Linked DNA regions of Homo sapiens: all the other regions are linked to region 1. The links are contacts of gene promoters, found by promoter capture Hi-C in blood cells and fetal thymus (Javierre and others, 2016). All regions are on one chromosome and are shown on one strand. The core of a region is centred on a gene start or on the middle of the fragment in contact, and the rest is flanking DNA. Distances in the headings are between cores, read along the strand shown. Region 1 holds the start of PHF20L1 (PHD finger protein 20 like 1). Region 2 overlaps ST3GAL1 (ST3 beta-galactoside alpha-2,3-sialyltransferase 1). Region 3 overlaps ST3GAL1 (ST3 beta-galactoside alpha-2,3-sialyltransferase 1). Region 4 overlaps ST3GAL1 (ST3 beta-galactoside alpha-2,3-sialyltransferase 1).

Evidence for each region. The method cuts DNA at HindIII sites, captures the fragments that hold promoters and counts their contacts. A CHiCAGO score of 5 or more calls a contact.
Region 2: a fragment that was not itself captured here is called in contact with the fragment with the promoter of PHF20L1 in region 1 in 1 of 17 cell types (activated CD4 T cells); the score reaches 6.6 in activated CD4 T cells.
Region 3: a contact is called between a fragment that was not itself captured here and the fragment with the promoter of PHF20L1 in region 1, in 5 of 17 cell types (activated CD4 T cells, total CD4 T cells, fetal thymus and 2 more). The highest score is 7.3, in activated CD4 T cells.
Region 4: a fragment that was not itself captured here is called in contact with the fragment with the promoter of PHF20L1 in region 1 in 4 of 17 cell types (fetal thymus, total CD4 T cells, naive CD4 T cells and 1 more); the score reaches 6.8 in fetal thymus.

What each region holds. Positions count from the first base shown.
Region 1 is chr8:132,770,806-132,778,010 of GRCh38, forward strand. It overlaps PHF20L1 (PHD finger protein 20 like 1), which reads left to right and starts at 4,583. Exons shown (of 21, transcript NM_016018.5): 1 at 4,583-4,840; 2 at 6,987-7,106. The coding sequence starts at 7,024. It also overlaps a transcript of TMEM71 not described here. RefSeq lists an enhancer at 4,312-4,813 and a silencer at 4,568-5,017. The HindIII fragment of the contact is 4,916 bases long and covers 3,696-7,205 here.
Region 2 is chr8:133,513,072-133,520,276 of GRCh38, forward strand. The region is part of intron 2 of ST3GAL1 (ST3 beta-galactoside alpha-2,3-sialyltransferase 1); the gene reads right to left. Among named protein-coding and RNA genes, the nearest start is that of ST3GAL1-DT, 54 kb to the right of the region's middle. The HindIII fragment of the contact is 946 bases long and covers 3,243-4,188 here.
Region 3 is chr8:133,473,994-133,481,198 of GRCh38, forward strand. It overlaps ST3GAL1 (ST3 beta-galactoside alpha-2,3-sialyltransferase 1), which reads right to left. Exons shown (of 10, transcript NM_173344.3): 4 at 2,285-2,607; 5 at 1,726-2,081. The coding sequence starts at 2,031. Among named protein-coding and RNA genes, the nearest start is that of ST3GAL1-DT, 93 kb to the right of the region's middle. The HindIII fragment of the contact is 1,982 bases long and covers 2,351-4,332 here.
Region 4 is chr8:133,454,992-133,462,196 of GRCh38, forward strand. It overlaps ST3GAL1 (ST3 beta-galactoside alpha-2,3-sialyltransferase 1), which reads right to left. Exons shown (of 10, transcript NM_173344.3): 9 at 6,884-7,003; 10 at 1-4,946. The coding sequence ends at 4,773. Among named protein-coding and RNA genes, the nearest start is that of ST3GAL1-DT, 110 kb to the right of the region's middle. The HindIII fragment of the contact is 1,203 bases long and covers 3,252-4,454 here.

The DNA.
Region 1 (7,205 bases), core at 3,333-5,832:
GTAGCTTGCTAAAATGCAGATTTCCAGTCCCCAAACCTAAGATATAAATCAGGGCCCAGGAACTTGAATTTTATCAAACAGTGTTGCATTTTAACAGACCATCTTGTTAAAACAGTGCCCCTGAGCCATATGCACATCTCCATAATGCAGATAATTGGCAGACCAAAGCTTGAGAAATACTGATATAGTTAATGCAAGAGACACTAGTTAACAATGATAAAAATCAGGAGAGGTGCAAAGTATCACATAGCAGCAGGAAGCAGAGACCATCCTTTGTCCTAAATCAGAAATGTGAAAATCCTTTGCAGTATCACGAGTGGATTCCATATTCAATGTACTTCTATTTATAAAATCTTTACTAATTTCTCATGATTATTTCTTCCTGCTTTATGTGTCATGACCAGATATCTCCGTTTGTCTGGAACTGTCCAGGATCCACCTGTCATTCTGGTATAATTATTAATAGCCCTTCCTTCCATTCTCAAAAGTGTTCAGGGTTGGATGATAAATTTTCTGTTCACTCTCTTGCTTCATGGTAATCTGCACACACACAAAAGAGTTCTTTGTCTCTCTTGCTGCATTTGCTGAAATAGACATACATATTTTTTCTATTTTATGACCCTTAGTAGCAGAGACTTTGATATCTTAGAATCATTATTGCCAAGCCTAAAAGTTTTAAAAATCTCAGAGATCCATGTGGCTCTGAGTAACATGTAAACTGAGTAACACATAAACTTACATATATACATATATATCAAAGTAATATATATTACTTCAATATTATGTACTTTGTATTTATAATATATATGTATTATTATTTACTTTAATAACATCATATTTCTTTATTTTATTTGTATATATAAGTATGTTTAAAGTAATCTGGAACACCCTATCATCCTTAGAGTTGGCTCATTCTAAGAAAGTGGAATATAAACCTACGAATCACAGTGAGGAATACATTAGAGAGGTGAAAAAAATGCTGCGGGAACACTGGGAGAGATGACATCTCTGCCAATTCATACATGGCCTAGAGCTCCTATTGCCAGGGATTAATTCTGGAATAACTATAATTTCTGTTCAGTTGATAAAGGGATATGGTGACAGAGGAAAGATAAGTGAGCTCTTTGGCAGGTGAGGAAAATGATGTCAGTGCTATTTTCAAAGATTTTTATGCACATGGAATGAAGAGATTTGACAGAGGCTATCACAGTAGTTTACGTTTCTGCTAAACTAACCTTAAAAAAAACTTGAACTGCTTTGATTTTCTTTACTAATGCTAATTGTAAATATTAAGTAAACACACAAAAAATAGCTATCTTGTGTTTTATTTGTAATCAAGGAGTATCTGGTATTTAGTAGTAACTTTTTTTCCTACCTTAAAATAGGTATACATTTGTTAAATATTCCAGGAGACATTATGGTTCCATATTCATATTTTTAATGTTGGAGGAATTTAGTTCAGTGATTTCTGCCTAACAACTGTTGTTTCAAGATAATTTGCTCACTGCTTGTTTGGTTCTGCTCAAACACAGCTGTAAGTTCTTTCTTTCTATATTTGGAGATGGAGTGACTGATGGCTGGGCATCAACCATCTGGAACAGGGTGTGCTGGGTGGAAGAGAGGAGAAGGGACAGATCAATGCACGGCTTCACTACATGGCCAGGGAGTCAGTACTAGAATTTTGTATATCCTGTATCCCTACTCTGATCCTGACCTTTGACTCTATGTGGTTAAAAGAGGAAATGACATCCTACCTGAATTTTTTGTCAGTTTTATCAGGCTTAGTGCCTTCCTTTTAGAGTCAATATTATATTCACACCCTCTCCACTTCCCAAAATTAACTTCATAAATAACATAACCAAGCTATACATATATACTTAAAAATCAATATGACTATGATAATATAAAAAATTTATGAAAATAATTCATAAAAATCATATATATTTCAATACTTAACATTCATCCATGTATCACAGAAATATATAATGAAGTAGTGAGGTGCTTGTATCTAAATTTAGATTTCCCTAAATGTAACAGCTACGCAACTAGACTGACACAGGTGCATTCTATCAGTGCCTCAAATACTATGAGTAATTAGCCGTTGGTGGCATGATATTTTAAAATGAGATAGACTCTTGATAATGTTCAGAAAAAAGGTCAGTGTTTCCTTACATTACACAGTTGCTTCATTCCTGTAAAATTTAATGTATATTAAAACCTTCCAAAAATACTTATATGTGAAATGCAGTTCTAGGCAGGGACAATTATAAACAGGTTTTTCACCTACATGAATGTCTGGAAGGACATCTAGAAGTCATGCATGACCTGGGGCAATTCTTCAAGGTATGGAACTGCACTGTGCATTTCAGGATATCTAGCAGCCCTGGTCCCTTCCCACTAAATAGTAGCAGTGCCCTACCCCAATCCTGAGACAATAAAATACCATCCTCCATTTCCAAAGTGCCCTCTAGGGGACGGTATTAACTCCACAGAGGATTACTAAGCCTATACAATTCACTGAAGCTAGGGATCATTTACATAAGACCTTATTTTATTTTTTTCTTTCAAGTGTCATTATTGGAAGACCCATTGTCAAGTTCCAATTAAAATGGAACAATCATCTTTCCAGGGTGGATTCTCAACAAATAGTTGGGAGAATGGACAGAATCTGTTGTTCTTTATGTATGTATTTTATTTAAATTGCAAATAACCTCAAGTTTTTAGTGGTGTATAATAATAGATATTTATTTTTTCTCAGTCACTAGCTTGTGATTCAGCAGGGGTTCTGCCAGAGTTCAGAAAGATTTAACTCCAGGCTGACCATCAGAAACTTGAATACTGGTACTGCCACAGATGTGGGAGAAAAGTTTCCTTATTTTGAACATCATTAGCAACTTCTGATACAAAGTCCTTGGTAAAAGAGTTTTACTTGAGGCTAGAACTTTAGCTGCAAGGGAGACTGGAAACATGAGTTTCTGATATTTTCATCTTATTTAGTGGGAGGTTGATTCTGCATCCAAGATTCATAAGGTGGATGTATCATTTAGTTTGGGTAGGATTATGCCATGTAACAAACAATCCAGCACCCAAATCTCCATAGTTAAAATAATAAATATTTATTTTTTTCCTTATACAACACAGTAGTTGTAGATTATCAGTGAGGCCTTGGTTCATCATAATCTGTCTAGAACCTGGATGGTAGAGCAGCTATCATCTCAAGCAGTGCTTTACACTGTGCCAGAGACAGAAACTTTGGTGAGCTGGCATTAAAAATTACCAACTGGCCATGACAAATCTCACTTCTAATTACATTTTATCAGCCAAAGCAAATCAAATAGCCATACATAATTCTAAGGAGGGTGGAAAGTATAATCCTGTCATGTCCTAAGGAAGATGCTACAAGTATTTGGTGTTCTGAACTAATGCAACCATGATGAGAAATTTCTCAAACATGGAAAGAGAGTTGAGATGCTGGGCAACCAAAAAACAAGATAACAAATATCCACTAGAGACTGTCTTATTTATATCTTTTCTATAACAAATATCCACTAGAGACTGTCTTATTTATATCTTTTCTATGTATCACCATGCTCAGTCTAGCTCAGTAGCTATTAGTGACTTAGTAGATGCTGAATGAATGTTTGTTGAATAAAAAAAGAATGATTGTTTAATTTACCAAATCTTACTATAACTGAAGCTTAAAGAGAGTTACTTTGCTATTTTAACTCCACACTATGAAGCAAGATAAATATAAGTGACATTTGTATGCAACGTTGCACTTGAAAACCAGAGTGGTACAGTGGAAACCAAGAGAAAAAAGATGTTTCATTTCAATATTATTTTCAATGTGTTCACTTATTGGTTTCTCCCCACAGCAAGGATACTGTCTCCTGTGCTTAGTAAAGTTTGGGAGGGTAGGTATTCGATAAAAGCAGTTCTGCTATCATTAGCTGTGTAGTCTTGGGGAAGTGATATCAATGTAGCCATAGGTTAAGGTTATTCAGCTGTGCCTGAGCACGCGCGTACACACATCTTAGTAATATTCGTCTTTGTATTGTAAAGATCTCCAAGACTGGAAAGCAATACAATTGTAATACAGTTGTACAGTTGTGATTGTCATGTGACATATTTACAGCCTAGTGTCTATCACAAAGCATCCATTCAAGGGAGGTTTATTGATTTTGTAGTAGTAACCATGCTCTATTCTTGATGTGGAGTGGGATGGATATCTAAGAAAGCATGTAATGCATTTGAAAAAGTTTGCCAAGGGTCCTGGGTAAAGGGGTTTTGGTGACGTGGTTCCCAACGAATCAAGAATAATAAACAATGCCCTTCGTCCTCAAATCTCAAAGGTCAAATACTTCACAACTACCAATAGGCACCAAGAGCTCGCGTTCTTTCCTCCAGTAACCAGAGCCCCGCCCGCTAGCGGTCCGTCAACGACCGCAAAGCCCCGCCTCCTACGGCGGCCCGCCAATCGGCTGCGCGGCCCGGGCCCAACCCTCGTGAGTCACGTGACAAGGCCAGGCCCGCTTCCGGCACGTCGCGGGCGGCTGACGTCGCCGGGGCCCGGCGTCGCGTCAGGGCTGGCCGGCGGCGGAGGCGGCGGCGGCGGCGGCGATGGCAGCGGACCCTGAGCGAGCTTGAGGGCTCGGACCCAGCTCCCTCCCGCGAAACCTTGGGCGGATCCGGCGCTGCGGCCCCAGCTCGCTCCGCTCCTGCTCCCTCCCCGGCCGCTGCCTGGGCGGAGGCAGAGGCAGAGGCCCGGGCTGGCCGCCCTGCTCGTGCCCCAGCTCGGCCCCGGACGGCCCGGCTGCTGTGCAGAGAGGAGGCCGAGTCGGTAAGAGGCGGCGGCGGCTGAGCCGGCAGGCCGCCTGGCCCCCGCCGGGCCGCCCGGGACGCCCCCATTCTGGTGTCTCTCTTTCCGGCCCGCTCCCCTCCCGCCTCCCTCCCCGTAACTCGCCGGCCCTATTGTCTGGGCGCCGCAGCTCCCTCTTCCCCTCCCTTCCTTACCCCCCTGCGGAGGGCCGGATGGCTGTCAAACCTGGAGGCTTCTCCAGCTCCCTGCCAGCCCTGTCAGCCTTTCCTGCCTGTCTCGTGCCACCCCCTCTCTGTCTGGCCTCACCTCCTCACCTTTTTTGGCCTGGCGGTCATTCTCTGACCATTGCTTTACATTGTCGGTCTCTATGTCTTCTTGCTCATTTCTTCTTCCCTCTAACTTGTCATCTCCGAAAACTTCCACTGTCCTATTTCTTGCCATTCTTTGCTCCTTTCCTTACTGTTTTTACTCCTCTCCGTGCTTTCTGCCTTGTTTTTGCTTCAAGTTTTACTCCCAGTAGACTGTCTTACTTTATGAAAGTTCCTTAATTCAAATCCCTCTTCATCCTTCCCTCTTCGAACCTAAGACAAAGGAAAATCTTGTTTTTTTTCTGGTACTTCATCCCTAAGTGTCACTGGGGGATTATACTCATTCAATCCATCACTTAATTATGGGCTCTAAGTTTGATTCTAGATGTTAGTGTACCTTGTGAACTATCCCTTACTGAATTCTTCCTGTGACAGACAGCAGAAAAGGTTGATTCGATTTCTACACAAACATTTAAGTAACTGCCTTACGTGTTGCGCACTGACAAGACCTCTATTAAAAATATTCATACATTTGTTCTTTTGCACCAGCTACACCCTGGGCAAGCTCCCTGTTAACTTTTTAATGCTCTAATATTTGCTTATACCATAGCAGGAGGATACCCACTCTCCCCCTCCAACCATGGGTATTTGAGTTCGCATATTTTCATGGCCAGTATTGATGCTATTTTTTCCCTTACCTATCAGACTCTTTCAAAGAGAAAAGAGGGAGCAGTTGGAATTTTATGTTTGTTGTTCTATTTTGTCTATTATGAATTGTGACAAAACCATTATAAAAGATGACAAGTGTGTGTGTTTCTTTTTTTCTTTTTAAACTGTAGGGAACATAGTCATTAGTGATCTCAAATACCGAAAGACATTTTACGGATCTCTCCTCGCCCCTGATAACAATCAATTTACATTCTTAATTATGAGTTATGTTTTGATTAGGTTATCTCAAAATGTATTCATATTCCTCACATACCCATTAGTGAAAAAGAGGCCACCTCAAGTGTGCTCGGTGGCCACTGTGGCCCAAAATATAGTACTTTGCATGTGAATGACCTAGGGATACATAGGTACTCCTTTGCAGTTTTTGTTCTAGCATTACAACCACTTTTATTATCAATGTGGACACTGTCTAAATTGAAATATAGTAGAAATACTCAGTTAACAAAAGCATGTTATTATTGCTTGTTGAATGTAAAGTATAAGAAAGCAGTCTCTTTTGTAATACTGTATGTTAAATTAAAATTATTGAATTATGTGCTACCAAGGTGGGAGATCATGGGTAATGAAAAATCCTAATCCCAAGAGGAATTAGTGGTATCTTCACTGGCAGAGGAGTGTGCCTACTGTTTCCTCCATCTTTGTGTGCTGTAGGGCCTTATCTAGTGTTTTGTATTATGAGGCACTCAACAAATATTTGTTGAAATTAAAAATTGATTTTGTTCTCAAGAATTTCAGTAGTCCTATTCCAGAACACTCAGCTGTCTTAATTTTTCAAAGGCAGGAAAGCATTTTCAGCTCTCCCCGTGGAGAATTTTCTTGGGTATCTGGAAGCTCAAATGTAAAGCATTTTTAGCTATTAACAATTTTTAACAGTCCATTTACTCATTCTTTTTAGATAGTTTTCTTTGTTCTTTTTCTTAAATCATTATCAAGATTGCCTGCAGATTGCACAGAACTTTATATAGAGATGTTGGTAATACTCCTTCAAATTTCTTAACAATTTGGCAAGTATTTCATATTCTCATGTATTGTTTTAGAAATTCTGTTTAATTTTAATTTGACCTGTTCCCTTATACTCTACTTCCTATGCATTTTCTGCATTGGAATCTAACTTTTTTCTTTCTCTTGAGGTAGTGAAAAGAGAATACTGAAGAATAGGATCTCAAGATGAGTAAAAAGCCCCCAAATCGCCCTGGAATCACTTTTGAGATTGGTGCTCGTTTGGAGGCACTGGACTACTTACAAAAATGGTATGGAAAATATAGAACTTTCACCTAAATATCACAATATCTGTAGCCTTACATATGTTAATTAAAACAGTAAATTCCACTGATGGTAGCAGAAACATC
Region 2 (7,205 bases), core at 2,466-4,965, 740 kb after region 1:
AAGACACAATGGGCCCAGTGTCCTCAGAGAACACGGTCATCAATGTCAGTGGAAAGAATAAAGATCAGAGGAGAGGCACAGGATGAGGGGACACCCCTCTGGAGTGCTACCCCCACCCCAGCCCTGCTGAAGAGCTCCCCCAGGCCCAGATGCCTCGGCCTTCACTCGTGACTTTGCCCCTGTCTGCAGCAGCGCCCACTCTCGCCTCTTCTCCTGAGAACTAAAGACCTACCGAGATCCAAGGAGATTCCAGTACATCTTCTGTGAGCACTCATCACTGCTGGGGCATTACACTTACATCACTTTTCAGGACTTTTCCTCTTCTCTAGTTTTTTGTTTTTCTTTCATTTAATTTTGGAGTACGGAAGGCCTCCCATATTTATATAGAAGAAAAGACTGAACACATAAGAAATGTGAACGTCTGTGTACACAGTGTCCACGGCTACTTTCGTGCTCCAATGGCACAAACAGATGGTACTGAGATGGCACGGCTCTCAAAGCCTAAAATATTTATTATCTGATTCTTTCTAGAAAAAGGTTTTGGCTGGGCGTAATGGCTCACACCTGTAATCCCAATACTTTGGGAGGCTGAGGCGGGCGGATCACAAGGTCAGGAGTTCAAGACCAGTCTAGCCAACATGGTGAAACCCCATCTCTACTAAAAATACAAAAATAAAAATAGCCAGGCGTGGTGACTTGCGCCTATAATCCCAGCTACTTGGGGGGCTGAGGGAGGAGAATTGCTTGAACCCAGGAGGTGGAGGTTGCAGTGAGCTGAGATTACGCCATTGCACTCCAGCCTGGGTAACAGAGCAAGACTCTGTCTGGAAAAAAAAAAAAAGAAAAGAAAAAATTTTGATCCCTGTGCTAAGAGACTAAATGCCCTGAATGACAGTGCAAACTAAATGGCAAACCAGGAAGCGTATTTTCAGCCCATGTCGGGCACCTGGCTAATATCCATAATAAACACAAAGAGCTCTTGCAAAAACGATCATCACAAATGCACACAACACAAATTTTTTAAAATAGTAGATAAAAGGCAAATCAATATTGAAGAAATGCACACAACCAATAGGCTACAAAGAGTAGTTTTACTTCACTAATAATCAAAGTGACACAGACAACAAAGGTATGTCCTTTCTTACTCATGGGGATCTAAGATTAACACCAATGACCCATCCCTAGTTCATTCTTCATAGGACCATTTCCCACCCAGTACAGCAAGCTCCCTGGCCACAGGCATTGGGTACTATTCATTTTGGCTTTAGGATCACTGCAGGAGCTCAGAATGGACCAGTGTCACAGCTATTTGCTCCCCGTCATATCTCCAGCAAGGAGCCTGGGGTGAGGGCTCCTTCCATGCCATGGAAGAGAATGGAACAGGCAGGAATCAAGAGGGTGAGGGTGGGCTGGGGTTGCCCTGCTCCCAAAGGATCCTGTGCTCCCATCTTACAGCCGCCAGTCCTTTCCTGGGGAGCACCTCTCCTCCACCGCATGCTCTCCTAGTGGGATGGTAAATGCACAGGCTGCCCTCCCACGACAGAAGCAAGGGCTCCCTAGAAGCTCCTCGTACTCCTGCATTCTCAGGCAATGAGATTCCATCCTGGGCCTTGACTTCTGAGCAAATGAGCAAGGCTACAAGGAAGGAGGTGTTCTGCAATCCTGGGGCACTAGGTGGGGAGGGTCAGGGTTCAGACATCACATGGGTCTGCCCGCTAAGACCCTCGAGATCTCCTGGGTTCCTGGTTTTTCCCATCCAGGGTTCTAGGCCTTCAATTCAATCCTGTGGGGGTACTCACAGCTTCCAAGGCAGGAGGGAAGCAACACCACACATTGCCATGTGCCGTCCTCCGATGGCCCCCCGCTCCCCCAGCAGATGCCAAGCCCTCTGGGAAGTCCATCTCCCTCTTGCTGCCCAGACAAACCCTACTCATATTTCACAGCCCAGATGACCTGCCCCTCCCTTCCTGATGATGTCTTTGGGGTGATCCAACTCCCCCACCCTCTGCCAGCTTCTTCATTTTCTGGACCTCTCTGCTCTCCCATCATGGTCCTGGCCTTAGTGGAAAGGCCTGCCTCCGAGGACGAGGTCCTCACTGCCATCTTGCAAGAGAGCTCGCTCCCATGCCACGCCAGGCAGCAGGCCTCCTGGGCCCACACCCTGCTCCTGGCAAGACTTCAGCCCCCTTCTGCTTTGTCCTACTGCTTTCTCCCTTACTCTGTTTCAGTCATGTCAGCTCCTGATATAGTCTGGATATTTGTCCCCTCCAAATCTCACCTTAAAATGTGATCCCCAGTGTTGGAAGTGGGGCCCTGTGGGAGGCATCTGGGTCATGGGGAGCAAATCTCTCATGAACGGCTTGATGTTGTCCTCCGGGTAATGAGTGAGTGCTCACTCTACTAGTTCTCAAGGGTTCTCATTGTTTAAAAGAGCCCCTACGAATGAGGTTTTGACCCAGTAGGCTCTGGCCACCTCCCCTTTTCCATAAAGTTTTTTCTAGAAGTCATGACATTTCTCCTCTTTGATGGAGAAATCTTCTTACTATTACCCTTACCATGAGTTTTCCAGACAAGCAACCTAAAATTAATAATTAGCACAGCTCTCATACTAATTATTATTTTAATCCTAGGCCTAGCCTATGAGTAAGCCCAAAAGAGGTTAGAATGAATTGGTACTCAGTTAAACCAAAACAAATGATTTCAACTCAGTAGATTGTGATAAATCATAATTACCAAATGCCCTCTATTTATATAAATATTATGTTAGCTTTTATTATGTCTATTTTTTTGGTAGGAGGGGACGGTGTCTTGCTCTGTCACCCAGGCTGGAGTGCAGTGCAGTGGTGCGATCTCGGCTCACTGCAACCTCCACCTCCAGGTTTAAGTGATTCTCTTGCCTCAGCCTCCCAGGTAGCTGGGACTACAGGTGCCTATCACCATGCCTGGCTAATTTTTGTACTTTTAATAGAGACAGAGTTTCTACTAAACCCACCAGGCTGGTCTTGAACTCCTGACCTCAGGTGATCCACCCACCTCGGCCTCCCAAAGTGCTGGGATTATAGGCATGAGCCATTGCACTGGTCCTTATTATGCCTTTAATGGGGGTAAGTCTACTGATCCTCCCTGCTATGCCTAGAAGGTATAATTTTATCAATATTTATTATGAGCACTCTCCCCTCTCTCTTGTTCCCTCTCCCTCCATGGGGCATGCCAGCTCCCCTTCTTCTTCTGCCACAACTTGAAGCTTCCTGAGGTCCTCACAAAAAGCAGATGCCAGTGCTATGCTTTTTGTACAGCCTGCAGAATTGTGAGCCAAATAAACTTCACTTCTTTATAAATTACTCACCCTCATGCATTCCTTTACAGCAATGCAGAGAACAGACTAATACACTCCCCATCCATTCTTGGGGAATCAAGCTCATTCCTGCCCCTGGGCCTTTGCACTTGCTGAATTTTCTGGCTCCCTCCTATCATTCCTGTCCCAGCTCAAATGTCATCCTTCAAGGAGGAGGAATATAAGGCCAAAACCAGTTTACATTTCTTTAGCTGTTTTCTTGGCAATTTAGATCCATCCATTCAACCAGAGTCTCACAATAGCTCTGTGAGGCTGGCAGGGCAGCAATTATAAAAGTGGCCAGCCCAATGTCACAGCTAAAACACTGCAAGCTGGAACTGCTTACAACCCTCATAACTCTAAGCCCAGGTTTGTTTCCTAAGTCATGTGCCCGATCACAAAGAAGAATCAACATCCCTCACTGATTATGAGATTTGATAGGCAGGCTCTCTAAGAACACCAGGTCAAGGGCAAAAGGAATGTCGTCAAATCAGACTCCAGGCATCCAGCTGGAGGGACCCTCCAGAAAGAGATAGAGTTGATCTCTGTACCTTCAGGGTGAACATATTAGTTCAGCAAATACACAAACCACTTTCTCTGAGCAGAAGTGACACCTTGGCAGCTTCCTGCCCACTGGCATAAGAGCTGTTTTCCTGCTGATTGGCAGCAGGCTAGAATTTGCCCTGTGCCAAGTTCCTGGTTAGGACTTTATTGAAACCATTATGGGGACGTTTTCAGTAACACAGTGGCTGGACAGTCCCATGGATGAGGGCCAGCAAGCCCCAGTCCTTCTCTGGATTCTGCTGTTCCAAGCTATGTGACCTTGAGCAAGTCCCTGTCCCTTTACTCCTCTAAGCTTTAGTCCCTGCCTTGAATAAAGGTGCTGGGGAAGAGCCCACCAAACTGGTGGATAACTCACCCAGTCTTGCACTTTTTTATTTTTTTATTTTATTATTTTTTTTGAGACAGAGTCTCACTCTCTCACCCAGGCTGGAGTGCAGTGGTGCAATCTCAGTTCACTGCAACCTCTGCCTCCCGGGTTCAAGCGATTCTCCTGCCTCAGCCTCCCAAGTAGCTGGGACTACAGGCGCGTGCCAACCCACTTTGGCTAATTTTGTATTTTTAGTAAAGACAGGGTTTCACCATATTGGTCAGGCTGGTCTTGAACTCCTGACCTCAAGTGATCTGCCTGCTTTGGCCTTCCCAAGTGCTGGGATTACAGGCATGAGCCAACGCGCCCGGCCCAGACTTGGGCACTTTGTGTCCATCATGGTCACTAACTCCCTGGGGACTTCTGGAAAGTCCTTAACTGCTGAGCCTCAGTTTCCCAACCTGTCAAATACTGGGCTAAATCAGAGGTATGAAAACAATTGCCCCACAGGCATGTTTTGTCTGCACTGTAGAGCACAACAAAACTTTGAATTAGGTGCAACAATAATCAGAAAGTTTTACATAAAAATCTAGAGTTCTGGCTACCTTTGAAAAAGGTGGGGAAGATCCAGGAACCCTGAGCTCACATTATCCATAGGACGATCTCACAGAGCTGAGTGGCAGCCATCTCCTTTGGTTGGCACCTAGTCAGTTTTACAATTCACTGCAGACCCCACTGCTCTCTACTGTCTTGCCCAGATGTTTCAACCCATTTGTGTTACCCACGTGGCCCCTGGGGATATATGAAACTGACTCCTGGGCTGAGTGTTCCAACGGTCACCTCTGCTCCTACTGTCCATGACTTGTCTGATATTCACATGCCAACAGATGCTGCCTGCCATCCCCTGGGGCAGTCAGTGGAGGGCTGACCAGCTTGAGGGTGGGTCCTGCAGGGCTGCCTTCCACTGTACTGCTAAGGGAGAGGCCCTGCCTCTGCCAGGATTCCAATCCCCCAGTCAGAACAAAGATGACAGCCTCCAAAATGCACCAATCAGCCACCAGCCATGTGAAGCTCTCTGCTGCAGCTGCAGCCTCCTGTAATTACCTGCCCCGTGTAATAAAGTCCCCATTTAGAAATCTTAGAAAAGATCCTGCAAGGAGAACTTTTTCCTTGATAATTTCCTGATCAGAGAATTTCAGGGTTGGAAAAGACTTTTAAAAGGGCATCTAGAGCAACCCTTCATTTGATGCTTAAATCTTATCCAGCGAGACTGACACATACCAATTAGTCAAGGACTTCAGGTTTGCCCAGCACTGCTGGAAGCTGGGAATACAAAAATGCAGCAAACACAGCCCCACCCAGGAGGACTCCCTAGGCTTGGAGGCTGGTCAGGTAAACATAGTGACAAGCAAGGACTGCAAGGACTCTAAAACCCAAAAGCTACATTTGCTCAGCAGTACTATGCGCCAAACACTTTGAATAAATTATCCCACCTAATTCTCAAGAAAAGTCTTCTAGGAGGTGCTATTTTTAATCCCCAGCTTGCAAGTAAGGATCTGAGGCTCAGAGAGATTAAGGCCCTTGGTTAAGGCCACAGAGCCTGTAGGTGCTGGAGCAGACTCTGATCCCAGCAGTGCAAGGCTCTGGAGGAGAATCTGTAAACACGACCTCAGGCTGCTATTGACAAGGGCAGCCCGTGGAGGGAAGAGAGGAGGCCTGAGATTAGAGCCCCTCGGAGGTGCAAACGTCTGTCTATGTTAAATTCTGAAGGGTAAGCAGAAGAGACATGGAGGTCAGGGTAGGGTAGGGAAAGGGAGGACAGAGGGGCCTGGTGAGGGCAGGCAGGGCAGGCATGAAGGTCTAGGGCCTCATTAGCAATCAGAAATGCAAATAAAAACAGAATAAGACATCTTTGACACCTACTAGCCTGGCAAAAATTAGAAGACACTGTGATGCCAAGAAGGCACAGTGATGCCAAGTGTTAGCAGGCATGTGCAGACACTCATGCCTCATGCCCTGTGAGTGAAAGTGTGGACTCATTAGCCACACTAGCTAATGGAGGTACAGGTGCAAGGACGTACCTGGAGGTACAGAGGCAGGTTACACACAGGCACACCCTAGGCCCCAGCAATTCCATTCCTGGGTAAATACTAGAGCTGTGCAAGCTACTGAGCAAATTCCAGAATGTTCTTATGTATGTTAAAGGAAGATAAATTATGGCTCACAAAGAATTTAAAATAGCATGGGGGAAATGCTTTATTATAATGTCAAGCTGGCATGAGTCAGGAAATAAATGGGATGACAGTAGTCACCTTATCCATAACAGAATTACCTGGGAAGTGTCCGAGAGATACATGCCAGGCACACATTAAGAACTCAGTAAAGGAGGCCGGGCTCGGGAGCGCACGCCTGTAATCCCAGCACTTTGGGAGGCTGAGGTGGGTGGATCACTTGAAGTCAGGAGTTTGAGACCAACCTGGCCAACATAGTGAAACCCCATGTCTACTAAAAAAAAATACAAACATTAGCGGGGCATGATAGCACTTGTCTGTAATCCTAGCTACTTGGGAGGCTGAGGCATAAGAATTGCTTGAACCTGGGAGGCAGAAGCTGCAATGAGCTGAGATTGCACCACTGTGCTCCAGCCTGAGTGAAAGAGTGAGACTCTGTCTCAAAAACAAAACAAAATAAACAAAAAGAACCCAGTAAAGGAATGCGGGCAAGGATTCTTACTTACAAGCATCATATTTTGGGACCTCTGTGCAGGTCTTTACAATCTTCCCCACTCATCATTCTTTCAGCCCACGCATATTTACTGAGCAGCTGCAATGGGCCAGGTAACGTTTGTGGGGGCTAAGTCTACAGCAGGGAACAAAACAGATGAAGGGAGCTGAAATTCTAGGGGAGGCAGAGACTATGCAAAGAAATGAGTGTGTAGAGGTCAGCTGATAGGGAGGAACATAGAGAGGCTGGAGCCGGGGACAACTCGCAGCGGGGTGT
Region 3 (7,205 bases), core at 2,092-4,591, 700 kb after region 1:
CCACCCCAGGACCTGCACACAGTGGTGCTCAACACAGATTAGCAAACCAGGACTCAGCCAGGTCTTTGGAAGCATAGCCCAGGGCTTTTGACCTTTCTAAGTCTCACACATGTTTTCTGTTCATTTCAAATAGACCTTCCCCAGAATCTACCTGGATAACCTCTCTGAATCCTTCATGATGAACCTGGCCATCACTCCTGTAGGAAGCCTTCTGCGATAACCCCAGGCTCCAAGGGGAGTTGGACATGAAGACCATCGCTCCTGTGCCCACTTCCTGCACAGCACCTATGGTCCTGGCTTGAGTTTGTCTGTTTTCCCTTCTCTCCCCATCACTCCTGCAACCCAAGAAAGGAAAGACTCTATCTTTTCCATCTCAATGTAGTGATGCTTGGCATATAGTAGGTGCTCAATAAATAAGACATGAACACATATATCTTGCTCTTCTTCGATCTATTTTGCATTTAACATGGGAATGACCTTTCAAATGACAAGATCAGATCATGAAACCCCCTGACAAAAATTCTACAGTGATTTCCTGTTGCACTTACAAGAAATCCCAGAGTCCTCCCCTGGGTCTTGCTGACTCTCAGGCCTCGTCTCACTGCACCTCCCCTGATTTACAGCCCCCCAGCCATGCAGAGCTCCTCTACTCCCCATTACATCCAGCAGAGGCCACCCTCGGGCTCTTGCACCCGCTGTCCCAGACACCTGCAGTGCATGGTCCTGCTCTTCTCATGGCTGCTGCCTTCTCTGCCTGTGGGTCTCAACTTGAGTCCTGCTGTCTCAGAGACCTCCCTGGTGACCCCATTTACAGAAGCCCCCTCTAAGTTTCTATGACAAACCTCATTGGATCTGTCTTCAAAGCACTTCTGTGTGAGCCTACCTTGTTTATTTCTTATCTTCCCCTCCCAGCCAGAATAAAATTCCATGAGAATAAGGATCTCTCTCTCTTTTTGCATTTCAATAGCTGTAGTGGGTGAAATAGTGGCTCCCAAAAAGATACGTTCAAGTGCTAGTCACCGGAATCTGTGAGCATGACATTTGGAAAAAGCGCCTCTGTGGGTGAAATTGTTGAGGATCTCTGCATGAGATCATCCTGGATTAGGGTGGGCCCTAAACCTGATGACAGGTGTCCTCATAAGAAAAGGAGAGGGACATGTGAGACATAAAGGGATACAGGGAGGAAGGCCCTGTGGAAGTGGAGGCAGAGGCTGGACTGCTGCAGCTCTGAGCCCAGGAACGCCCAGCACTGCCGGCAGCTGGCAGGAGCCAGGAGCGGGCCTGGGGCGGCTTCCCCCTCAGAGCCTCCAGGAGGAGCCAAGTCTGCCCATAATTTGTTTTCAGACTTCTGGCCTCCAGAGCTGCAAGAGGATGCACTTTTGGTGTTTTGAGCCATGAATTGTGCAGAAATTTGTTATGGCAGCCACAGGAAACTAAAGCCGTGCTTCCTGCTCTGACTTAGATATAATAGATCCTCAATAAATAGTGTGGGACAATAATCTGAATCCTACTAACTGCCTGGCAGGGCCCCAGGTGTACACGGGGACTGAGCATTTAACTCTGAGAGCACCTCACTCTCATTACCAGACCCCTACCCTCAGCCCAGACTCCCACTTTCAGCCCAGGCCTCCCACTCTTATCCAGATCCCCACTCTCAGCCCAGACCCCACTCTCAGTCCACACCCCAACTCTCAGCCCAGACCCCGCTCTCAGGCAGCATCTCACCAGCCACCATCGGTAGGTGTCGTCCTCCAAGAGCGCGTTCTGGGCGGTCAGCAGCGGCTGCATGGTCTGGTTGAACCTCTCATCGAACCAGGCCGAGAGCTTGCGCTGCCCGATGCAGTGGGTGCAGGTGCAAGGCCTGTGCTTGATCAGTCTCTTCAGGTTCTCGGAGAGCTCCAGGACCATCTGCTTGGGGAACCAGGTGGTGGCCACCATGGTGTGGGAGTAGTTCAGGAAGAAGGAGGTGAGGAAGATGAAGAGCACGAGGAAGGTGAGCACTTTCAGGGTCCTCTTCCGCAGGGTCACCATCTTCGCAGTCCTGATGGTGGCCTCCCACGATGGGTAGCAGGAACTCCCTCCTAAGAGAGGAGAAAAATGGAAGAAAAATCCCAGAGGTGGAGGCTCAATCAAAAGGGATGGCAGGAATTCCAAGGGAGGACACAAGGGCCGCTAAGCTCGACTTCACTCCTGCTGGGGGATGACCCCCAACTGTGTCCCAGACACGGCTGTGTGGTAGACCAACGCCATTCGTGGCATGTTGGCTTTGCTTGCATATATTTACCTTTTCAGAAAATAAAGTAGCCTATTCTTCTGCAATCCTTAAAGAGCTGATAATGTCTCTCGATCAAGCTTTAACCAGTGATTTCCTTTCACATCCAAAGAAGATAAGGGGTCATTAATCTCTGTGACAGTCCAGGGTCCCTCAGGAGCGAGGACCTCGAAGGAAGGGTGTTGGTATAGCGGGGAGGGAAACTGTCTCTGCCGTCCTCCTCCAACTGTGGTTTCTGACGATCCTTAATTAGGGCTTTTTCTTTCCCATCCTGTCGCCAGGGACATGGTGGGTACACAACCAGCTTGATGAAGGCACAGAAGGTTGTCTGTCATCTGCAAAGAAAAGGAGGAAGAAAACAGCGTGAGATTCTGTGATCCTGCTATAAAAAATGTTTCTCTCCACATCTCCACCAGGACGTATTCCGTGGTCTTCCTTCTGGTGTCATGCCAACCTGGCAGGTGGCTCTGGATGGTTTATCTACCTTTGTGAGCCTGAGTGCGTGCATACAATGGATGTTATCATCTCTTTGCAAGGTTATTATGGGATGCAGAAGGTGTCCCCTCCATGTTTCCAACAAGAACCTAGCACATTGACACACTCAACAAACATTTGTCAAAGAGCTCGTGATGCATGTAGGTACAATATACACAGGAATTGTTAAATGCATGTTATTTGCCTTTCTCTCTACTTCATTCTCTTCCAGATTTTGGATTTCAGCAACAAGCACAACAACAATGGTATGCTTAGAGAGTGGCCCAGGGTTCCTTTTACCTGGGCATTCAAGCTCTGCCAATTGGCCTCAGTTCCATAAAAAGGGGCTTTAGATGGTCCAGGTTCAAGTTCTGATTTCCCAGCTGTGGAGCCTTGGGAAAGTTATTTGACCTTCCTGACCCTCAGTTTCTTCTTCTGCAAAGTGGGATACTAACACCCCTACTTATAGAATGGTTATGAAGATAAGATAAAATGATGTATGCTGGGCTTCTGGTATCTATTAGGCCATTGCTGAACTTTAATTTTTCTTCTTCAACATGTGAATGAATCAATATTCTCTGATGATCCACTAAGAGCTGAGAGGATGAGATATTCATGCATACGTATCTCTTCAGATAATCCTCAGAATATACTGTCAGCTAGATATTAGTTTCCCTTTTTGTCTTGGAAGAAACTGAGACTCAAAGTGCTTAGATGACTTGCCTAAGGAAAGGAAGGAGCAGGATCCGAGTCCAAATCCACAGTCCTCTGATTCCTTACATCGGGAGGGGTTGGGGGACCAGGAACAGGGGGTTGGGGGGCTCTACCCTGGAGCAGACACCTGTCTTGTTAACTGGTCTTCAGATTACTACGGCTGGAGGGATATAGAGCAAGGGGGGAGTATTCTTTTGAAGAAGGCAAACAGGTACCTCTCAAATGCCCATCGGAGACCCCTCTGGCTCTCACCGACACCTTGGGATTTCTGTATGGTACAACTGTGGTTGCACGTCTGCCCTGGAGCGTGGTCTTTTTGGTCTTTGCTTGGAATGCTGAAGAATGGAAGAAATCTGATCGATTCCTCCCCATTCTCAAGGTGTAGATTGTCAATAAGCAGGGTATATTTTTTTCCAGGAAAATTAGAGTTGAAAGGAGATTGATCACCTTTTGGTAGAAAGGGGGACAGCTCCAAAACCATATTAAATCCACAGTGCCCTTCTGAAGACATCCAGGGCCCAAGATGCATAGGGTGCAACCCTCTACAGCTTCCAGAACTAGAAGCCCAACGTATGGAGGACAAGGTCTGAGCTCTGCAGCTCAGTTGGCAACGTCATTTTTATCCGGTCTCTGCTCCAGTTTTCACTTTTCATGACAACCTAGATTTTGTTTATAACCTAGTGGTGTCCACAGGTATCCCATCCAATTCTCTCCCCACCTGCCCCCATCAAGGAGCAGCTCTGTAATTTAAGTAAGAATAACTTCTGCATCATCACAGATAGGCTCACAATTCACTTGACTGGCAGAGGGTTCCCACCTCTTACCCCAGTAATTGATCCAGGGATGGGCATGTGCCTTAATTCATCCAGCCAAGCTTCTGTAGGGAGGGAAGAAACTTTCTTTTGCTCTGGCTGGCTTGTTGTTGACATGTGGAACATCCTGCTGGCTATTTTGCTAGCGTGTGTAGAAGAGACTAGAGCTGAACAACCCGAACAAATGGTGCTAAATCCCTGATCCTGCTCAACCTGCAGCCCCACCCTCACCTTGACTTTTCAGTTACATGAGGGAATAAATCCCCTTTATGGGGTAAAGTAGGTTATTTGTAACTTGAAGCAATGTGACTGACCCAGAGGTCACAGTTGCTCCTACCTCCGTGTCCCTGCTCAGGCTGTCCCCACTGTCCAGAAAACCACCCCACCCTGCTTTGCCGATGGCTCTTACTCATTCTCTAGGGCTCAGCTGGTGCTGACTCCTGGAGGAAGCCCTGCCCTCTCCTGGGGTGAGTTAGGGGCCTCTCCTGGCTCCCTAGGGTCCTGGCTGCACTCTGTCTGTGCTCTTCACACATATGTCTCCTCCCTGGACTGGGAGCAATGTGAGGATGGAAACTCAGCCTCACTATGGCAGTGACCCTGTCACCCGTGCACACACTCAATGCTCAGTGGAGGCTTGGGTCATGAAGAAACCCAGAAATGAATGAAGGGAAACAAAACGGCCAACAGTCCAGAGGGAGAACTGAGAAAGAAAGCACAGACTCTGAGTCACATTTCCATTCTCAGCAGCCTGTCCCACACTACTCACTGCGTGACCATGAACAAGTCACCTAGCCCTTCCGAACCATCCCTTCAATGGGAAAAACGGATTGATAACACAAATTCTGCTCATTTCTCGGGGCCGTCAGCCCATCAAGGTTGTCCATTCATCTCATTCATTGACTGCATATTTGCTGGTCCTTGCGTTCTCCAGGCCCTGGACAAGGTGGCTGGGGTGCATCGTAAAAGGATCTAAGGTAGGCGCCTCCCAGGCATCAATAGGGCCCCAGACCCTGTGGAGCAAAGGAGGCCTGTATGGCTGGATCAGACACAGTGTGGAGGAGAGGAGTGGGTGGGGGGTGAGGGGGAATCTGAGCATGCAGCTGGGGTGAGAGTGTGTTGGGCCAGAGAAGCCACAGTCAAGACTAAGTTTTCTCTGGGTGACATAGAAACCTGCTGGTGGGGCTGAGCAGAGGAATGCCATGGTCTTACTACATTTGCCTTTATAATGAGCAGGGCCTAGGACACCCTTGCCCTTAGTGCCTCTGCACCCCTAATGCCAGGGCAGAGATGAGTTCCCTGAAACAGATGACTGTTGATCCGTGTTGATCAAACAAGGCTCTGGATGAGAGGTCAGGTTTCCTACAATGTCCTGCCTCTGCGTGAGAGATATTAATGCTCTAGGCTGCTGCTAGGGATGGCGTGAGAGGCAGGGCAGAGGGCAAGGTTGTGCTGCACAGGTTGTGGGACTGTGACAGCCTCCTCTCCTCTGGGGCATCCTGCAGCCACACCTCCAAGGCCAGGGCACTCCCCATAACCATCAGAGGCTTCTGAGCTGGTATCATTTAGCGCTTTCCAAAGCCCTGGATAAAACTGCAATGGAAAAGCAAGAACACCGCTATACCCCTTCCCTGGCTGCAGGGAAGAAACCAGGACTGCATGTCTTCTCCGTGCTCTAGCAAGCGTGGGGCAGCCTGCAGGCATGGGGGAATGCCAGCCCTGGCTCCCGGAAATGACATCTGGGCCAAGACGCCACAGACCAAAGATCTCTGCATGTCAAGTGTGCGGTGAGGGAGGCCGGGCCCCCCAGAACAAGGAGAAAGAAGAGAGGGAGCAGGGAAGGATGGGGAAGGAGGGAAGCTGGCTCCCTGTCCTCTGCCAAATGGCAGTCATTTCCCAGCCACATGCTCAATACGAGGAGGCATGAAGCACCTGCACACAACAGAGCTTAGCGGGGTCACCAGCACAAGACTGACAAATGTCAGCACACTTTTGGGGACTGAAAAGTAAGAATTTCCCTAAGGAGAGTCCCTAATGAAGATAAACTCCTCTGGCAATAGGGAGTTGAGGGGCAATGACCAGAGACTGAGAGAACTGTGTGAAACTCCTGGAAACACAAATGAAGGAACCACACGGGGTTTTGAACCTGTAGTAAATACCCACTGAACGGGATGGTAGTAAATACCCATCACAGGCTGGGATGCCCTCCCAGCCCTTCACACAGCCCCTGGCACTATGGTCACTAGAGAAATGCCTGAGCGAACTGTGCAGGCTGTTGGCAAAATTGACGCTTTCAATACAGAGTGGCCACAACTTTCCTCATGTGATCCCCAAGCCACCAGGAGAGGTGGGTAACCCTTACGCTTGTCTCCCTGAAATGAAAAACTAAAACCCAGAGAAGGCAAGTGACTTATCCAAGGTCACACAGCAAAATGGTAGCAAAGGCAGACTCCTGCCTTCTCCTGTGGCTTTCTGTGTAGCCGTGGCTCATCATTCAATTCCATCAATACCTGCTCTTATCTTCCCTATCTTCCCCATTCCCTTTCTGATAACTTCTTTGGACTTGGTTTACTGTCATCTTTCCAGCCTTGTTTACTCCCCCTTCTTGCTGTGCCTACTCTATTTGAATTATGAATTCAGTTCTTCATTTCAGTGGTGTCTTTTAGTTCTGGAATTTCTACCTAATTTTTTGACAGGTTCTACTTTGCTGGTGAATTTCTCCACCTTGTCATCTATCTTTGTGCAATTTTATTCACCACAGCCGTCTTAAAGCCCACATTGGATATCCTGTGATACTTGGATAATGTGGGTGTATTTCTATTGTCTATTTTCTCGGTTGCTCTTTCTTTCTTTGGTTATTTGGTTCTGTCCTTGGCAGGCCTGGTTGCTGTTTGTATTGTGTATGACAAAAATGCAGAGGCTCTGGATGAGGCTGT
Region 4 (7,205 bases), core at 2,603-5,102, 680 kb after region 1:
CGACATGGAGAGAGGCAGGGGGGAATAGAAAGCAAATTTAAAAACACCAACACCCAAACACACAAGACTGCACACAAGAAAAAGTGCTCAAGAAACTTTGGCTTTGAAGGGAATTCAGTGAAGGGAAGCGATTGTGCAGGAGGAAGGGAAGAAACCCACGATCACCCTAAGGGGCGGGGGGCTGGAGGGCGAGGCCCTGAGACAGGCTAGGGTTAAAGCTGACGTCCCACAGCTCAGGACGTACAACCGATGGCAGTTTTGTACTAGGAAGAAGCTGAGTGATGAGGCTGGGTGATGGGATCGCTTGACGGGCTGGGAGGGAGGACAGGAGGTGTAAAGGTGGCTCACCTTCCCCTAGGAAATTCAGTGCTCTTTTGGTAAGAAAAAATAGTCGGTAATGCCCTGATCCTGACAAGCTGTGAGATGCTGTCTTGCCTGTCTCTGCCTTTTCTTCTAAGTTTTCCTCCTTTTCTTTGCACAGGTGTCAGGTAGCACCCCAGGGGTGCAGGAGCTGGTGTTTTCATGACAAACAAAAATGGGGAGGTTGACTCTATCTCAAAACTAGCTAGCCCAGTCCACAGGGCAGGATAATCCTGATGGCGTGTAGCCACATTTGCTGCAAACCAGATGTCTGCGATGGATATAATGATACCCCCGGGGCTCTTCTCAGGGGTGAGGACAGGTGCTGGTTCCTGATGGTGCATGGCTGGTGTCCAGTCATCTTTAGCTGGGCAGTGGCCCCTCGAGGCTCGGGCTTCCCTGCACAAGGTATTTTTGATCCTTGCCAGCGGAGGGAGAGAGAGTTATCTTGGTTTCCTTTCACTTGTTTTCGGGCTGCTTCAAAGCAAACATCCCAGTTCCAAATGTTCTTTGTGGTTTGAATCCTGGCAGAGGCCAGGGTCACATCCAAGTGGGACTGGCCTCTAGCACCACCTTCTGGCCACAGCAGAGAATGGGATTCCATCAAAGCCTCTCAACCAGCCGTTTCCCTAAAGAATCACCCAGATCTTAACTGCCCTCTCCACCTTCTTTTTTTTTTTCCCTCCTATTTTACATTCTATTTTCTCATATCCAGCTTTTCTCTCTAAGCCTAACCAAATGCTTTGGTGAATGATGCTTGGAAAAGCTGGAGTTTTAAAAGGCATTCATCCATTTATGAACTTTCTTCCAGCCCAGGATCCCTGCAGAGAACCAGAGGTTACAAATCTGCCCTCCTTTCTCCCCTAAAAGGTGGCTGAGGGGAGGAGAGGTGCATGTAGCTCCAGCTATAGCAAATCAGTGCCCTGACTCACTGGGGAGACCCAGGGGGTTGGGATGTTGCTGACACCTCATGGGCCACCTCATCAGCCCATCTTTGTAGCTTCAGGTTCAGCTCTGGGTGCTGCAGGCAGGGACCCCTCTGCTCCCTGCCTGAATGCAGGGCCAGTCTCCAAGGAACTCTGTCTGCAGAGTAGAAAGAGCTGTGGGCTGGGAATCAGGGGCCTGAGGGAGCCCCTGCCACTGCCTGCCCAGAACCAGTGCTCCTCATTCTCCTGCTGACAGCATGCATGTGCCTTTTGGCTAACACACACTCTTGTCTAATTCCCAGCCACCTTCACCCCAGGGATGAGTTCCAGTTGGTTTAAGCCAGACTGGTGCATTTAATTCTGGCTGCAACAACTGGATTCTGTTAAGTGCCCATTGCTAAGCCAATGAGCTATCTGCTGGGCTGTGGGAAAGAGAAATGCAGTCTCCTGCACGGGAGGGTGTGAGAAGGCCACCCAGGCAGCCTGCAGCTAGAGCTCGGCGCTGAGAGAGCACAGGAGAGTCAGACACCTCCATTCTGGTTACACTTTTTCCAGATGCTGAATGGAGACTCGCTGGGAAAGCCCGCCTCCAGACAATTTCAACATAGCGCCGGTAACACCCTAGTTTTGCTCAAACTCTGACTTGTGCTATCTGTCCCAGACAGTTCACGACTGCCCGTCACTTCCCTCCTTCACACTGCACCAGGAAAAGGCCACACCTCCCTACACAGCAGCAGCCTTTTAGGAAATGTGCTCTACAGGAAAAGTGGTTTTTCTGATTAAACATCAGGAACTAGAGTCAACAATCGCTGTCCTCTCCCGTGCCTGTCACGCTCCACTCCCCACCCAGCTGCAATGTGGCCTTGATTTTCTCATCAGTAAAATGGGAAAGCTGGATTTGGAGGCTGGAAGAGATCTCACAGCTTGACCACCCTAGTAGGAGGGAGGGAGACCAGACGGAGGCCAGGCAACCGACCCAGGCAGCATCTGGCTCAGACGCAGACACATCTTCATGTTGAGGGACCTATTCTTACACAGCAAAACCCAGAGAAGTCGACTGCTCAGCCTGAGCCTGTCATCCCTATATAGACTCAGCTTTTAGGAGAAGAGGGAGAGTTGAGGAGATAGCATCGCTCTCTGTATCAGTGTCTGATGATCTGGAGTCTGCCCCTGGGGTCACTCAGTCACTCAACAAACATTTGTTGAGCTCTTAACGTCATATATGGGTGTGAGCTCTGCCCTTCGAGGCTGTATGTTCTGAATGATGACTCAGTGATTTACCAGCCTTTCTCAGAAAAAAGAAAAGTCTTTAAAGTTTTGGAGGATTTTAAAGCTGAAACAGGTTTTCGGTTTGTTTAACACATTCCCCATTCTGAACCTTTGAGAATCTAATAAAAGCTATGGTCCTTTCTCCAGAAAAATGCTCATATGCAGAGATTCAGGGAAAAAACCAAACTTGGCACGCAACTTCCGGGGACTCTTGTGAATGGCCTGAAGCCACCTGTGACCCATGACTGATGTCCCCAAGTTCCTCCCTCCCCGTGTGCAGAGGGGGCTCCCCCGAGCCTGGGAGCACAGGCCCCATGCCTCCGTCACACTCCACCAGGAAAAAGTCACGCCTCCTCAAAGCAGCAGCGACCTTTTCAGGGATATTTTCAACAAGAAAGTGGTTTTTCTGCTTAAACATTAGTAACTGGAGCCAACAATCACCGTCCCCCACATTCCTGTCACTCTCCACTCCACACCCAGCAGCAATAAGGTTTCACGGAGTTTTGGAGACTCCTAGCCTGAGAATAAATCCAAGTCCACAATGAGGAAGAAGGAAGGTTGGGTTGGGACGGGAGGATGCTGAGGACATTCCACAAACCATCCAAGCCCTAGATACCCCCAATATCCCACGTCCGAGGACTCCTACAAACCTCCCTTAAGCACCCCCACCTAATTTCCCAGCTACTGGGTGAGGCAAGCTTCATTAAAACACCAGGACCACCAACAGAGCCAGGGTGCAAACAATGTCAGTTGAATAAAAAAAAGAAATCAATAAATAATCAGGAAGGCTAATGAGGAAAAGAGAGTAGCTGGGGAGTAAGAAGATGAGGTATGTGGCAGTTACCATTCCTGGGATGTCCTTGACCCAGACCCCCAGTGACAGCCCCAAGATGGCCAGCAGGGACTTGACCCTGAGCTCAGGCCCTTGGGGAAAATGCTGCTGGCAGCCTCCTGTGTGGCTTTGGAGGTTACGGGCACCATATTGAACAGTCTGAGAATGAGAATGTACGTTCCATTCTGACGCACTGCTGGGTGGTGTTGAGTATCCTCAGAGCTTCGTTGCAATTCAGGTGCTGGCTCAGGAAACCAGAAAAGATGTTCCCAGCTACGGAGCAAGCAGGGCCGCTGGTGGGGGTCCCTTTTCCCAAGTAAGGGCTTTTGTTTCATTTCAGCCAATGCATGCTTTTCTTTCCCAAATACAAAGGCACATGGAAGTGGTCAGATCCGCTCTCGCCACGATTAGAACCATGAGACTGACTACTCAAAGGAACAACTGCTTGGGAAGAGGCATCTGCAGGAGTCAGAAACACGGTGCCAAGTTTGGGGTTTTTTTTCTTTTCTTTTTTTTTTTTTTTCAGAGACAGGGTCTCACTCTGTTGCCCAGGCTGGAGTGCAGTGGTGTGATCACAGCCCACTGCAGCCTCGAACTCCTAGGCACAAGAGATCCTCCCTCCTCAGCCTCCCTAGTAGCTGGGGCTACAAGTGTGTGCCACCGTGCCTGGCTAATTTTTTTAAATCTTTTATTTTTGTAGAGACAGGAGTCTCACTATGTTGCCCAGGCTGGTCTTGAACTCCTGGGCTCAAGTGATCCTCCCGCCTCGGCCTCCCAAAGTGTTCAGATTACAGGTGTGAGCCACGGCACCTGGCCTCAAGTTTCTGTGAAAATCTTTGGGGTAGGAGCCTCTGGTGGCTCATAAATGAGCTTTGGGAAGATGACAGGGTTATCACGCCAAGCAAGAGGCCAGGCTTCGTGCAAAGAAGGGCAGCATCTCGCCCCGAGCGCCAACACCGCCTGGCACGTCTCTGTGCTGGAGGTAATCGCCACTCAAGTCTCTGCCCATCTTCCTGGGAAACTGTCCTGTCTCTCAGAATATAGGCATCTTCCACATTCATTCCCCAAGCTTGCCCCAGGAGCCAAAATGATTTTAGTGTGTGGAGGTTGAACCTTTCCCAGCGTCTCCCCAGCTCTAGGGCAGCAGTGGGGGGACGTTGTCCCCACTCAAGACAGGTTCCAAGACATGCTCTGCCACGCTGGCAGAGCTTAGTGACCTTGCTGAGTAGATGCTGCCAACGGCTGGGTGCAAGAGGCTGTGAGCGGTGCCCAGGCACACACCTGAGGCTGCCCCTCCAAGCTCCGGGATGGAACGGCTCCAGCAAGATGCTGGGGCTGGAAATGCAGAGGTGTGACAGTGCGTCCATCCTCAGCCCTTCACTGCGTCATCTCCCCTTGAAGATCCGGATTTTATTGATGGAGGCCAAGGTGGCCGTCACGTTAGACTCAAAGTCTGCATCGTGCACCCCCGTCTTGCGAAAAGCCCCCGCGGATGGGTTGTTCTCCCAGTAGTGGTGCCAGTTCCCTTTGCTGTCTGCCCCGAAGCCGTACAAGTCCACCTGTGGGAGCAAAGCAAAGATGAGAACCAGACAGCAGGGCTGCTGGTGGCACCTCTGAGAAAGGAAGCCTGTAGGCGTTCCTGGAATCCCACAGGACCATAAACAGCATTTCCAAGGACTCTGACTAACCCTTCATTAAAAACCCTTCTCTACGTTCCTGGAACTCTCAGAGTCTTGGTGAAGCAAATGCAAGTTAAGTAAAACTCAAGTCTAATTCCAGAAGCACCCTGAGAGATTACTGCATCTGGGTGGTCTCAGGGGCCCGGGTCTTACCTCTGCAGCAAGTGCAACCTATTCTCCCAGGATTGAGGAGCTACAGAGGGAAGGAATAGGAAGGAGGGCGTGGAATGGAAGAGAGTGGAAGGAGAGCAGGGCTTTGGGGCCAAGCAAACTGCCCCAAATCCCAGCTCTGCCACTCCGTGGTGCCCTGGGCATGTGAAGTCACTTCTTTGAGCCTCACTTTCCTCATCTGGAAAATGGGTCCAAGAATCATGATTGCAGTGAGGCAGAGGGCAGGGCTGATCCCTTTCTTCTCTGTGGCCAACATTCATCTGGTCCAGGCGCCCTCAGGGCCACTAGACCAGGCCTTTCACATACATGACAAACCCTGTGCATTTATTCTGAGCCCAGCACCCTGCTGGCTGTACTGAAGTTCAGGCAGAGCTTGATCAGATGCCAGCTGGGCAGCTGCAGGGGGAAGCAGCCTTGGAGCTTATAGCTTCTTGGAGTCACTGACTGAGTGGTCCTTGTTGGAAATGGGGCTAAATTCAGGGCTCCCGCAGCACAGAGGAGGGAGGAGCTATGCCCTGAGAGGTCAGAGGAAGCTCTTCAGAGGAGGTGGCATGTGAGTTGGGTCTTGGAAAATGAGTACAAGATGACCAGAAGGAATTGCATGGAGGGGCTTCCAGGGAGAGGACGTGCTATCTGGGCTGCAGCGTGGAAGATAGATTGGAGGGGTGGGGACAAAGAGGGGACGGGGACAGCACCATGCCACATGTGGCTTTCTCAGGAAATGCAACATGGACATGGGCCTGCTCCAGGGCAAGAACGTTAGGGCCAAATCGGTGGGACGATGGGAGAAAGGGCTCTTGAGCAGAACCTCAAGCAAGGGTCTGGGACCAGCTGGCTGGAGGTGGGTGGGGTGGGGAAATGACAGGGGCACCCATGTTTCTACCTGGGAACACCAGGGTGGGGCTGAGCCTGGGGACCTGCCTTGCAATGCCTCTGACCCTTTCTGAGATTCCCACCAGGCACCAGGCAGGGTGGGGCTGGGGCTGGGCTGAATGAGACAAGAAGGGACACGTGAGGGCCCTGCCTGAACCCAACATCAGGGAGGAAGTGGGGGCTGTGTGGCCTGCCCTCCTGCCCCTCTTCCTGGGGTGGCAGCAAACCTCTCAGAGCATAAGTGGAAACCCGAACACAGCCTAGCGGACAGCGAAGGACATGGGAAGGCAAATGCATGCTTCTCGAGATCACGGGTTCTCAACCTCGGTAGACAGTGGAACCCCTGGGTACCTGGCTCCCATTAATTCTGGTAAAATTGGGCCAAGGTGTGGCTTGGGTGCTGGAACTTAGACCCACAGATGATTCTAAGGAGCAAGTGGGATTGAGAACTGTGGCCTTAGACAACTCTCGCTATGAGAATCCGCTTCTGTATCCGGAATCTGCTGCGAGATCCGAGCTTCCACCACCACGGTCCTGGGCACTTACACAGAATGTGCCAGAACTATTGCTCCTGAGAACTTTCTCATAGAGCACTGTTACTCACTAAAACACCCTGGGAGACACATGTTGCAAGTCCTGTCGTAGAGACAGGGAATCCGAGCTTCCGGAAGAGGCAGGCTAGGTCTACCTGCCCTCCCCCTCCCTGGCCTCTCTTGGGAACACAGGACGGTGAGCTTCGAGGCAGCCCTGTGGGCAGGGGGAGGGTGGCATACCTCATCGCAGACATGCATTGAGAAGATGACCGAGAGGATGCCGGTAGATGGGTATCGCCCGTGCCCTTGCAGCCAGTTGTCAAAGACATACTTGATGAAGGCTGGGTGGTAGATCAGGATCTGCGGGGATGGGAAGACACGGCCCTTAGTGAGTTCTGGGGGGCAAAGGACATGGAGCGCCTGTCAGATGTACATACTGTTGTGGCCATGGAGGCACAGCCATGAGCCTAATAGATACGCCTGCACTTGTGGGCTTCCATGCTCGTAGGAAAGATGGACACTCATCCACATCACTAAGAGACAGAGGTGCTGAGCTAATAAG